Linked DNA regions of Homo sapiens: region 2 is linked to region 1. Evidence: promoter capture Hi-C in 16 types of primary human blood cells and fetal thymus (Javierre and others, 2016). All regions are on one chromosome and are shown on one strand. Each heading gives the region's core, a stretch centred on a gene start or on the middle of the fragment in contact. The rest is flanking DNA. Distances are from core to core; before and after follow the strand shown.

Region 1 (6,100 bases), core at 2,627-5,126:
GAGGCAGTGGGCTAGGCATGGAAGGAGTAAAAAGTTTCCAGAATTTGATAAACTCAGGCACGCCGAGTTGAACCACAGACCCTCAGAAGATGGGAGAGCCTGTGGGTGTCCCTCCCGGACCACGCTTCCACCGATGTGAGCATCTGTTCTTCCACACCCCTGACCAACAGTCATTTTTCCAACGCTGTATCACAGAGCCTGCTCCATCATAGAGCAGGTCTGGTCTTGTCCCCTGGGCGATCACAAAATATGTTGGCTCCTCCACCCACACACCCTCCCCCTTGAAGCTCTGCCCAGAGCTCGCCTGGTGTTTGTAGGGGTCCTCCCCTTCTCTTGGCTTCCCCACACTGGTCACAGTGTCATTGCTCTCGAAAGTGAGGGGGCTAAGATATGACCACAGTGCACCTGATGGGACCATAGCCACCTCATACAGTACCTAGCCACTTTCTTGGGCAGGTCCTCAGGACACTCCAAAAGTTCCACAAGGTGAGTATGCCCTCAGTTAATTCCTGAATGGAGACAAACCACAGCTCTGAGTGATTGCATAGTTTCTGCTGTGGTTTGGGAAATATGTGGGTTCATTTATAAGCTGGATTTTGTCAGGAAGACTTCAAGCTCAGCCATTGTCCCCTGAGGATACCCTTCATGGCCCATCTGATACAGAATGAAGAAAGGAAGCACTCTTCAAGGCCGAGACCCCTGGGGAGGAGATGCCTCTATGGTCGAGATGTGCTGATAGAAGGCCCAGCTCCTGGGACCCATGGGTGGCGAAGAAACGGAAAGGGCTTGCAGTGATTCTAGAAAAAGAAGGCTGAGAAGGACCATGAGCTTTTATAGGCCAGAGGTGCCTGAAGACAGGCTGTGGATTATTTCAGGTTGGTGGTCACTGATGCTCTTGAGTGAAAGCCACAGATTTTCTCCCCCAAAATGCACATACAGACATACATTTGGTTAAGGAGTAGTTCTTGGTTCCCCAAACCAATGCAAAGTCCCCATTTAAGAATCCCTGCTCTAGAGAGAAACTTCCATCTAATTAAGACCCTCCTGGAATCTTCGCTGACCCACGCCCGGGCTGGGTAGGACCCTTCCTTGAGCTGCACTGAGCACCTCACTGTTGGCACTGTACTGCAAAGGTTTGAAGAAGGTGGCCCTTAAACCAGCAACATCAGCATCACCTGGAAACGCATTAGAAATGCAAACTCTTGGTGCCTAACCTAGACCAAATGAATTCAAAACTCTGGGGTGGGCTCAGCAATCTGAATAGGCTCTCCTGCTGATTCCAAGGATCACTTGCATTTGAGAAGAGCTGCTGCAAATAGTTCTCCTCTTCATGGTGTGTGTCTGTCCTACTAGATACAAGGCACCTGGCACATAGTAAGTGCTCAAATGAATAATTATCGTATCAAGTTTTCCCGACTCCCAGGGCAGGAGTTTTTCCTTGGTACCATACAGCTTTCAGCTGTGGTGACTGAGACCCCATGTCATTTTGGATCTAGTTTCTACTCTAAGGCCTAAGATCAGGCTTGGCTCTACTAGGCAGAGGCGGGGACCCGGCCTTGAGGCAGGTGCCCAGAAACCTTCACACAAGGATCGAGCCAGACAGACATCAAATCTGGGAGCATCTTTCCAGGTAACAAGGCCCCAACCACCTGGTGGATGAGGGGCAGGTGGACTAGGGGCTGCCTGCCCAGCACATATGCTCAGGGCTCACAGGACCCAACTCTGCCATGCTCTGCAAGCTGCCCCTACTCACCTTGGTGCCTGCTGCACACCAGCCTGGGCAGAGGCTGCCAAACCTCTGGCAGGGACATACTTACCAGGTTGGTGGGGAGAAAAATGGCCACTTTCAATTTCAATTTTTAAGGAATCTCCAACTTTTAGGGGTCTGGGAGGAAGTGGTTAGAAGACTCCTCTTTTTTTTTTTTTTTTGAGACGGAGTCCCACTCTGTCACCCAGGCTGGAGTGCAATGGCGTGGTCTCGGCTCACTGCAACCTCCGCCTCCCGGGTTCAAGCAATTCTCCTGCCTCAGCCTCCTGAGTACCTGGGACTACTGGCTGGTGTGTGCCACCACACCTGGCTAATTTTTGTATATTTAGTGGAGAAGGGGTTCACTATGTTGGCCAGGCTGGTCTCCAATTCCTGACCTCGTGATCTACCCGCCTTGGCCTCCCAAAAGGATTATTTGCGTGAGCCACCACTCCCGGCCAGAAGACTCCTTTTAACGTCTTGTGTTATGAGTGTTTGTTAAGGGGGGCAAGAGTTGTGTTTCTTAATTTCATGTCTCCCATATAGGGCTAAACTCCCAATTTAACTTATTAGGGAAAGGAGGTGTCTTCTACACAGTGCCTCCGTTTCCTAAAATTTTAAAAATAACTTTTTTGAGGATTGTAGGGAAAACATTTCTGTAACCTTTCCTGTCTCATATTGCTCCAGTTCTTTAAACATTACAAAAAAGAACATTTGATTTTTGAAGGTGGGGGCAGAGAGAAGATACCTGGTTACTCTTAATTTCCAATGCTTTTATTTTTGAAAAGTACCCTTGCAGTTTTCTTTTGGGGAGGGGCAAAGAAGGATTTCTGTTCACCTTGCATCTCATAGAAGAGCAATTCTTAACATTTTTATTCCAAAAATCAACCAGTTGTGGGAGATGTAGGATGGATCCAGTAATCCCTCCTTGTCTCTATAATAGGGCAGGTCCTTCATACTTTCAATTTTTAAAAAATCGGATTTTTTAGGAGAATAGGGAAGAGAATAGAAAAAAAAATCCCTTTTAAACTTTCCCAAGTCACAAGGAGGCAGTTGCTCAAGTTAAAAAAAAAAAAACAACAATAACAACAACAAAAAAACTGGCTATTTTGGGGTGTTGGAAAGAAATATCCTGGTTCACGTTTTATTTCACATGCAAGTTTCTCAAATTTTCCTTCTCTAAATCAACCTAACTGGGGGATATGGGGGTGGGGGGCGCTAATATCCCTTAACCTTTAACCCCTCTTGTCTTACTGTAGGACCAGTTTTTCAAACTTTTATTTAGAAATACATATATATATTTTAATTTGGCAAGGATAGGCAGAAACAGCCGCTTCACTGGCATTTCACATAAAAGCGGCTCCTCAAGTATTTATTTTAAAAATCAGTCTGGCTGGGGGGCTAGAGTCCCCTTAACCACTCTTGTCGGACATGGGGCCAGTCCTTCAAACTTTTATTTTATTACATTAGTTTTTTTGGGAGGAGTGGCAGGGCAATAGAATATTCCCAATAAGCCTTCCAGTCTTCCAGCAAGCCAGCTCTTGAAAACTTTTATTTCAAAAATCAATCTGGTTTTTTTTTGGCGGGGGGGTACAGCGGGGTACAGAGTTCCCATTAACCTCTTGCGTTCCGCCGAGAGCCGGCTCCCTGAACTTTTTTTCCAGCGTGAAAATGACATTTCCGAGGGGCTGGGGGACTGGGGGAGGGCAGAAGGGAGCCGGGGAGCGGGCGCGGGGGGCGCGGGGAGGGCAGGGCGCGGCGCGGGAAAGTTTGGGGGGGCGGGTGTGCCGCGGCACTGGGGCTGGCGGACGGGAGGGCGGGCGCGCCCCTGGACCGGCCGGCTTTGTGTGCCACGCGGAGGCCGGCAGCGCGGAGGCCGAGGCCGAGGCCCCGAGCTCGCGGGCCGCACGGCGAGGCCGGCCCGGGGGCGGGCAGGGCGGCGGGGGGCGGCGGCGGCCCCGCGAGGGGCGGCTCGGCGGCAGCGGCTGCCGCGGCGCGGCCGGTGCGGGCCGGGGGTGGGGGCGAGGGCCGGCGCCCCCCCCGCGCGCCCCCAGCGCCCCCGCCCCCCCGGCCTGAGCGGGGCGGGCGGAGGAGGGAGCGGCGGCGGCGGCGGCGGCGGCGGCGGCGGCATTGTGCGCGCACCAGCAGCCCGGCCCGGGAGGAGCAGGACGCGCCGGGGCCGCCTCCTCCCGCACGGACCCATGAACCAGCCGGGCGGCGCGGCGGCTCCGCAGGTACGACGGGGGGCCGGGGGCATGCACCGCGCGGGGGACCCCGGGGGGCCGGGGCCCGGGGCGCTGCGCCACTTCATTGCAAGATTTGCAAAATGCAAAGTGCCTGGGCACGTTTGCGGGCTTTTTGTGGGCGCAATCGGGAGGGTCGGGGTCCGGAGAGCACCCCCCCGGGCGCTGCGGGGTGCGAGGAGGGTGGGGGTGACGAGGGGGTCTTTTGGGGCCCCCACCCAGCGCCCCCTCCGGCCCCGGGCTCGGACCGGAGCCCAGAAAACAAAGCGGCGAGAGAACAGAGCAGCCATTTCAGTTTGGACAATTCACATTTTGCAAAAATGCAACCCCTTCCAGCTCTGCCCCCTCCCCCCCAAATTTGCAATTTTCCCCTGACCCTCTCTGCGCTCGGGGTCCCCGATGACCCCCCGGGAGGTCTTTCCCCCCAGGTCCCCCATTTTTGCAACAATCTTTTTTTTTAGGCCATATTTTCCTTTCTCAATTTTTTTTTTCTAATTTTTCTTCAAACGGTAGTTTTTTCCCATTAAAACGACGCCACCTAGAGGATACTATTTTGTAAATAAAAAAGAAATTAAAATTGAAAAGAAATATTTTTTATTTCTTATTTTTTCAAAAGTTTGCACTACCAGGCAGTGGAGGGGTAAGAGATTCTTTTTTTTTCTTTTTTCGGGTGAAAATTTTCACTTTGATCTTTCCAGAAGCATGGAGACAATTTTTATTTCTGAAGCCAAATCCAGATAATATGTAAATGAAAATTAAGCTGGAATTTGAATGAATTTAGTTCTTGGAGGGGAGAAAGCAAAAAACCTCCTAAAAGCAAAGTCAGTTTGGGTACCCAACTCATTTTAGTTTGAGAAAAAAACTAATTGGAATAAAGAAAGGAGGGAAATTGTTGAGTTTAGGGAAAACTGAGAGAATTGGCTTTATGAAGCAATTAGAAATTGTACTTCATTGTAATTTGGAACTTGTTTAGCTCAGCGGGCAAAAAAAGACTAATTTCTCTATATGGCAATATTTAAAGTTTTTCTATTTCCACGAACGAAGGATTTAAAAGAGAAAATAGAACCTAAAATGTTGGCTTTGGACACACCCAAAAATTGTAGTTTTTTTTTTTTAATTTTGCATTTACATTTTACTGCATTTAAATCCTAAGATTCTAAAGAAAACAGAAACTAGAAAAGTTACAGTGAAATCCTTTCTTTCTTTTTTTCTGTATTTGTTGGGTTTTGTGTGTGTGTGTGTTTTTTTTGTTTTGATGGAATAATTAAGACTGTTTTCTGATTTTGTTTCCTGAAAGGTCTAGGCATTTCTTTTTTGTTGTTGTTTTATCCAGAAAATGTCAGGAACCTTTTTTGAGCAATATTAAGTGGAAAAAATGTAAATTCATACATTATACAAATTGAGTAGCCCACAGATTTGTAGGAGAGACCGCCATTAAAATAAGATATGCATAATTAACATTATTATGAAAAAACTAACAGTGGATTCACAGAAGCTCATTTTTTATGACATGCAACTGAATCAATTGATGAAGACAAGGATTGAGGAATCCTTGGTAAGGAAGAAAATTTTCCCTTTTCTGTCTTGTTCACCCTTCCAATTTGAAAAATTTATTACTTAAAAAAAATTTAGATTGGTTTCAGGCCTCTTTGATTGTGATGTGGGGTTGGTAGTTTATCAATATTTGTTATTTTTCAAAAACCTGATTACTTTCAAAGGGGGAAAAATCCATTAGCCTTGATCATTTTGGGGGGTTTGTGACCAAAAAAAAAAAATGCACAAATTTTACTGACTTAACAAGAAAAAGATAAAAGAGGGATGGGCAAAAAGGAGATGAAAATTCTGATTCTTATCCATCTTCCTTGGTAGAACACTTACTTTGCTGAAGAAATGTGATATAACACCAACTCAGCTGGTTTTAGCAGCAACAAAATAAAGGAAAAATAATCAAAATACAAACAAAAGCCAAACCCAAGGTTTGCCTTTGGAATATGAAAGCATATATGCAAACAATATTTCATGTGGAGGTTTTGGCCTTAAAATGAATCACATGAAGGTGAAACAAAAAAGAAAAAAAAATTTAAGAAGGCAAATAAATATTGACCGAATT
Region 2 (6,100 bases), core at 1,564-4,063, 88 kb after region 1:
AGGGGAAGGGCCAAATATATAGAGGAAATGGCTGTGGACTTGGGGTGAGAAGATGTGTGAACCTTGGCCAAGCCACTGGCGGTGGTATGACCTTGGATAAGTCACTTAGCCCCTCCACGTGCTTGGTTAATTCTTGGTCAAAGAGGGATATTTAAACCACAGTGTTTTCCCTGCAGGGTTACTGGGAGGATCTCATTCGGCGTAACTTATCTGTAAAGTACTGTGCTGATGGTTAGTATTCTCATGTGTGGGAGAGATGCAACTCCATTTTTCTTGGTGCTAAGGCCCATGATTTTTGGAATCTTCCTTGACTCTTTCTTTATGTCATACCCCACATCTAATTTACCAGCACCAACCAGTATATTCAGAACTCAACCTTTCCTCACCCTCTTCAGTCCCTGCCACCATCATCTTTTCCCTGGACTGCTCCGTAGCCCTGCCAGCCTTCTGTTTCCCCCCTGGCCTCATGGTCTCCTTTCAACACAGCAACCAGAGTGATCTTTCTAAAATGTAAGTCAAAGTATGTCACTTTGCCAAAACCTTCTAGTGGCTTTCCAGAGTAGAAGCCAAGGCTCTTCGGTGGCCTGCAAGGCTCTGCATGAGCTGACCTCCCATGATCTCTCCTCCTCTTGTCCTCATGTACTCTGCCCCAGGTATCCTGACATTCTTGCTGTTTGCCAAGCACACCAGGCATGCTCCTGTCCTGGGGTCATTTGCACTGGCATCCACTTTGCCCCAGACACCACATGGCCAACTCTCTCACCCTCTTACAGTGTTCACCCAATGATGCCTACCCAACTACCCTACTTAAAATTGCAGCCTGTGGCTCCTCCCTTGTCCCCAGCATTCCTGACCACCCTATCCTTCCCTGTTCATGACTCCCCCGCCTCCCCCACACACCATAGAACTGATTACTTTCAAGCATGCTATATGTTTTACTTATTTATTACGCCTAATGTTAGCGTCTCCCCCCACTTGAATGTAATTGCCACAAGGGTATAGATATATCCCAACTGCCTAAAATGATGTCTGGCATGTAGAAGGAGCTTGATAAATGTTTGTTGGATGAATGAGTGAATTTTCCTTATTTGAGTCTTGTGCCTCAGTGGAGGAGACAGAAAGTTACATGTTAAGTTTTGGGGATTCACTGGCTTTTGGAAAGGAAATAGATATATAAATAAAGCTTGAGTTGTTTCAGACCAACTGTCCTCTAAATATTAGGGGACATAGAATCATCCTCTGGGCAGGTCCTGGGTTGGTGGGTGCTTCTTGCAAGCGCAGTGCCCCCTGCAGGCCTCCAGGTTAAATGCACTTGGTTGCACCCACTGCCGAGGTCACATATCTTCCTGCAAGGTTAATTGTACCAGCTGGTCGTTTAAAACAATGTTGATGTTTGTACTAACATATAAAAATATATGAAATATGTATTATGGTGTCGTATGTATTTGGTAGTTTGAATGTAATATTCAAATGTATTGGTAAGAATTAGTAAGCTACAAGACTTCAAAGGGCATTTGAGCATGCAGAGAAACTCCCATTTCTCTCTGGGTTCATGTTCATGCTTCCCTTCCATAAGGGTGCAGAGAAGCCTGAAAAATACTGACCACTGGGCATTCAAAATTGTCCCCTAGTGGATTTGACGTCATCCACCCAGAGCCCAGCAGAGTACTTGCCACATAGTAGGTTTCCAAGAACTATCTGCTGAGTGAATAAAGGAATGATTAATTATTTGAGGTCAATTGATATATTTCATTCAAGCATGATTGCCAATGCACCATTCATCTAAGCAACCTCATTGTCAGTATTTTTTTGAGAAACAATCATAATTAACAGATTCAACTATATTTGCCGAGTATTTGCCCTGTGCCAGGCCCTGAGCTGGGTGCTGGTGACATGGTCATGTGTGGGATGTGGCCTTTGGAGGAGGGGCAGCACACACCCTGGGGGGTGACAGACGCTTCAGGAACTGCAGCCCCAGTCCCAGTCCCGTAGAGTTGGTTGATGTCTGCGTGTCAGCAGTGTTGGGAAAACAATGAACAGGGACAAATTAAATCTAGCTGGGGGAGGAGGGAGCCATTCAATTCTCTAGAGACCAAGTAATTTTTGAGTTGCGGTGGGGGAGGAAAAGGCAAAATCCTAATTATAGCACTGTGAAAATGTGCTGCGCCAGGTCCATCTTGAGCTTGGCTAGCTGAGGCGCCATCTTGGAAATGCCCCCTCCAAGATGGCGGCCCCCTTCTAACCTCACAGAGCTAGGGGGACTGTGAGGCCCCCACATTTGTGGCAGCACCTCAGCCTCCCCGAGCCTCAGGCTCGGTTCTCTTATCGAAGAAAGGCATTTCATTCTTCGAGATCAGGCAGCCAGGACCTAAGGAGCTGTTTTTCCTCCATTGTGCAAGCATGACAAATCATTAATTTTTGATTGATTTGCTTAGAATTATGGGCGCCCCAGCATTCTTTCCGCCGCTGAACAGCTGTATAACAAATGAATATATCAGTGAGCACAAAAGATTGGAGATCTAAGAGAAGCAATTACATTGGCCACCCTCCCCCACCCTCACCGCTTCCCGGGCAATGAAGGGAGGAAATTTTTACCAGAAATTCCTCAAGTGGCTTAAAAAAAAAAATGCCATTTTATAATTGAATTAAATCTTTATCTCTTCATCTTTTGCAGCAGGTTTTTCCAAACACACAGCGGTTCCCCACGTGCTTGGGTTCTATCCATCCAGGAGGAATCTTTAATAATGAAATTTCAACTTGTGAGAATTAAAACCAAAATGAAAAAAAGGAAAAAAAGAAAAGAGCAAATTCTACCCCTCCTTTCTGCTTTTTTTTTTTTTTTTTTTTTTGGTTGCTGCTATTCCTTTAAGATTTTGGAACCGTACCAGTGCACTAAATGTGACCTCCATAACTTTTAAATTAAGAATTTATGCTGGCTTGAAATTTATGAAATATTTCAGCATGAAAGAAAGCCTTTTTCCCTCAGGAAAATTGAGCAATAAATCACAGCACTGTGGATTTACTGCCCTAGAGCCAGCGAGAGATAGGATTTTTTTTTTTTTTTGCTTCATTCTGAAAAAAAAAAAAATGTAATCATATAAGACAGCTTAGCTGCTATCCTCCCACTCTCTAGAATTTTTAATTTCAGCTGTTTCTGCTTGGATTTATTTCCAATATTCCTGCTCGGCTTTTCAATTTCCTCAGTTATTAAATTTTAATTCAGTGCATTAGCATTTAAATTAAAAAAGGGTTTATTTTATCGAAATCGTTGGCCAGCCCCCATCCTGGAGCACACGAATTGCCTGTTTCTGCCATTTGCACAAAATGTGAAATGCAGCTAATGTCTTACAACTTACATTTGCACAAATTTAGAAATAAAATTTCTGGGTTTGGAATAATATTTTCTTTCCAAGAAAACCCTTAATAAGAGAATGGAAAAGAACAACTTCACATTCATTTGGGAGGGAAGAGGAGGGTCGAATGAAACCAAAAATAGCCTTGCCCAGGTCCTGAGGGGAAACTGGTGAATAAGGAATGGGTGGGGCTGGGAAGAGGGGACAGGCACCCTTATTCGGGGCTGGAGGGCTTAGATACACCTTCACCCCAGCTTTACGAGAGTGAGAAGGAGGATCTCACTGGGGTCCTCCTTATTTTATTTGTCATAGAGGAGTCTGGTTTTAAGGTTGGGTCAACTCCACATGGAGTGGGGGAGATGACCTGATTTAACCTCCTTCTCCGCCCCCATTTTTTACCTATGGAGAATCTCAGGTGCAGAGAAAGGAACGAGCTTGTCTGAGGTTCAAAATGAGACTCAGAGCCAGGGAAACAAGCTACATCCTTAAGGAGCACACAGTCCAGTGGCGGAAGATGGTGGAACAACAGCAGCTGCAGTGGGAGTTTCCATTACCTGAGTAATGACTATGTATACCAGGGCTGCGCTTAGTACTTTAGTGACATTACTGTCATTCTGGCTGCACCGTTGGAGAAGGCCTTCGGGCTGTGTGGTCTGGTGGCCACTCATGAGATGCCGACTTGCAGCTTGGGATTCGGGGAAGGCCTTGAGGCAGAAGACCCATGGTCCACCCCAGGCTGGCTCTGCGACTCGTTCATCTTATACATATCATTCTGTTTTTCTGTGCCTCAGTTTCCTAGACCCAATAAATAGTGGCCTCTATAACTATAGGGTTGTCAGTGATTATTTTCATTATTATAGCCAAGCACTCACTAAGTACTTTTACATGCTATTACATGTTTTACCTTATTTAAGCTATCTCAAGTCCCAAGCCAGTCCCGTGAAGTAGGTCCTGTGATGAGCATCTTGCCATTTTGCAGAGGGAGAAATCGAGGCCTTGGAAATACGTGTGACTTGCTGAAGATCGCAGAGCTAGAAAACGGCAAAACCAGGCCTTGAACTCCGATGTTCTAACTCTAAACTCTGTTCTCTTAAGCTTCGGTTCAAATTGAGACTCAGGTCAGTTTGCACAGGGTACAGATGAGTTTGCTGTTTAGGTTGAATCATATGAAACTGCTGGTGTTAGAACATTTTGGCCTCAGCACATGGCAATGTCAGAGGTTCAGCTTAATCCACTTGGAAGGAATGGCTGTGATGTATTTGTAAGGACAGACCACACCGGCCTGGCGTGTATGGAACTCCACCCTGGGAGTTGGTGTTCCCAACACAGTGGACTTTGGCTCTGTCGTCATGGTGTAGCTGGACTCGGCCAGGCCCACACGCTGTGATTGCCAGGTGCTGTGATACTGACACATGTGTCTTGGACATCTCCCACTGAATCCATTGTCCATCCATATTCCAATGAAGCAACTCTCATCTGCCACCATCTGAACATCCCACACCCTGCCCAGGTAGAACTCTCCTCTAGTTGCCCCAGTTTCCCAGCAGCACCACCTGAGTCTCTGCAAAAGTATTTGACAATTCTTTGAATATTTTTAGCACTTTCTCTTTGTTTTATGAAAATGGGTGGAAAACAGAAATGCATGCAGCTACCAGTAACACGAAGCTGAAGTATCATTCACTCAATAAAAGAGAAACAAAGGTGGAGATTATTAGGCATGCTGAAAACAGAGACTCTTATCCCACACTCTGTCACGTGTTTGCTGCACTTGAGCTGGTCAACTCTGTGTGAAATTGTGAAGGAAAAGGACAAAAATGACAACTTTAAAAGTGTGTGTGACAAGCTAAAAATACACGCACAGAATTAAGTCTGAAAGGCGAGAGATCCATTTGGGAGTTAACCATTTTTTTAAGATCTCTGGGGCAGAATTTCCACCCGTACCACTTCTGCTGCTTATGATACAAACATTCAAACAAATTCAGCCTGTTTGCTTTGCATACAAGTTTTGAGGAATGCAAGATGTTGGAAAGAGGCTGTAATTGATCTGTTCTTTTGCTCCCAGTGAAATGATATGCAAACCATTTTCTGCTTTCTTGTTTCTTCTGTTGAAATAATACATGGGCAGCTCATTAATTTCTTCCTCCCCGACCTCACATTTCTCCCTCCCTATTCGTCCTTAACCTTGCCCTTTCCCTTGTGTGGGAAACAGGAGCTGTTTGATGTCACCCCATTTCCCAATTGGCTCTCCTGAATGTCGGTGGGAAGTAAAATGCTCCAGAACTGAGGATGTTGGACTTTGGAGTGACCCAGACCTGAGCTTATAGCTGTGGGACTTTTGATAAATACATTCTTTGACCTGTGTTCTTGCCTGTAAAGTGGGGATATTATGGGGTGGAGGGGGGAGGACCTATGGTGAGGATTAAATGAGAGAAGGCATTAATGTCCACATCCTAGCGCCTAATGGGAAGTTCTCCCTGGGGAGCAAGTGTGGATGCCCGCTGGGACCAGACGGGCTGGGTGATTATAAGGCAAGAGTGGAGGATGGAGGCTGTGGAGAGCCAAGTATGTCAGCTCTAGCTGCCTGTCACCATGTAGGACTAGGTATCATGGGGTTATCCAGTTTAATAAGAGAAGGTGGAGATCTCGCCTTTTTTCAGTGCAATTCTTTTATTTTTATACATTGCCGATTTGTTTGAATCGAAGTCCGCCATCTGATTTTGCCAGTTTGCAACTTCTCGTAAGCACTC

What was found. Contacts are between HindIII fragments. The CHiCAGO score rates a contact against its expected background, and 5 or more counts as called.
Region 2: a contact is called between a fragment that was not itself captured here and the fragment with the promoter of ZNF618 in region 1, in 1 of 17 cell types (endothelial precursors). The highest score is 5.1, in endothelial precursors.

The regions. Positions count from the first base shown.
Region 1 is chr9:113,872,433-113,878,532 of GRCh38, forward strand. ZNF618 (zinc finger protein 618) reads left to right here and starts at 3,877. Exons shown (of 15, transcript NM_001318042.2): 1 at 3,877-3,981. The coding sequence starts at 3,949. RefSeq lists enhancers at 1,300-1,800, 1,801-2,301. The HindIII fragment of the contact is 22,796 bases long and covers 1-6,100 here.
Region 2 is chr9:113,961,924-113,968,023 of GRCh38, forward strand. The region is part of intron 1 of ZNF618 (zinc finger protein 618); the gene reads left to right. Among named protein-coding and RNA genes, the nearest start is that of ZNF618, 89 kb to the left of the region's middle. RefSeq lists enhancers at 2,094-2,594, 2,233-3,610. The HindIII fragment of the contact is 3,265 bases long and covers 1,182-4,446 here.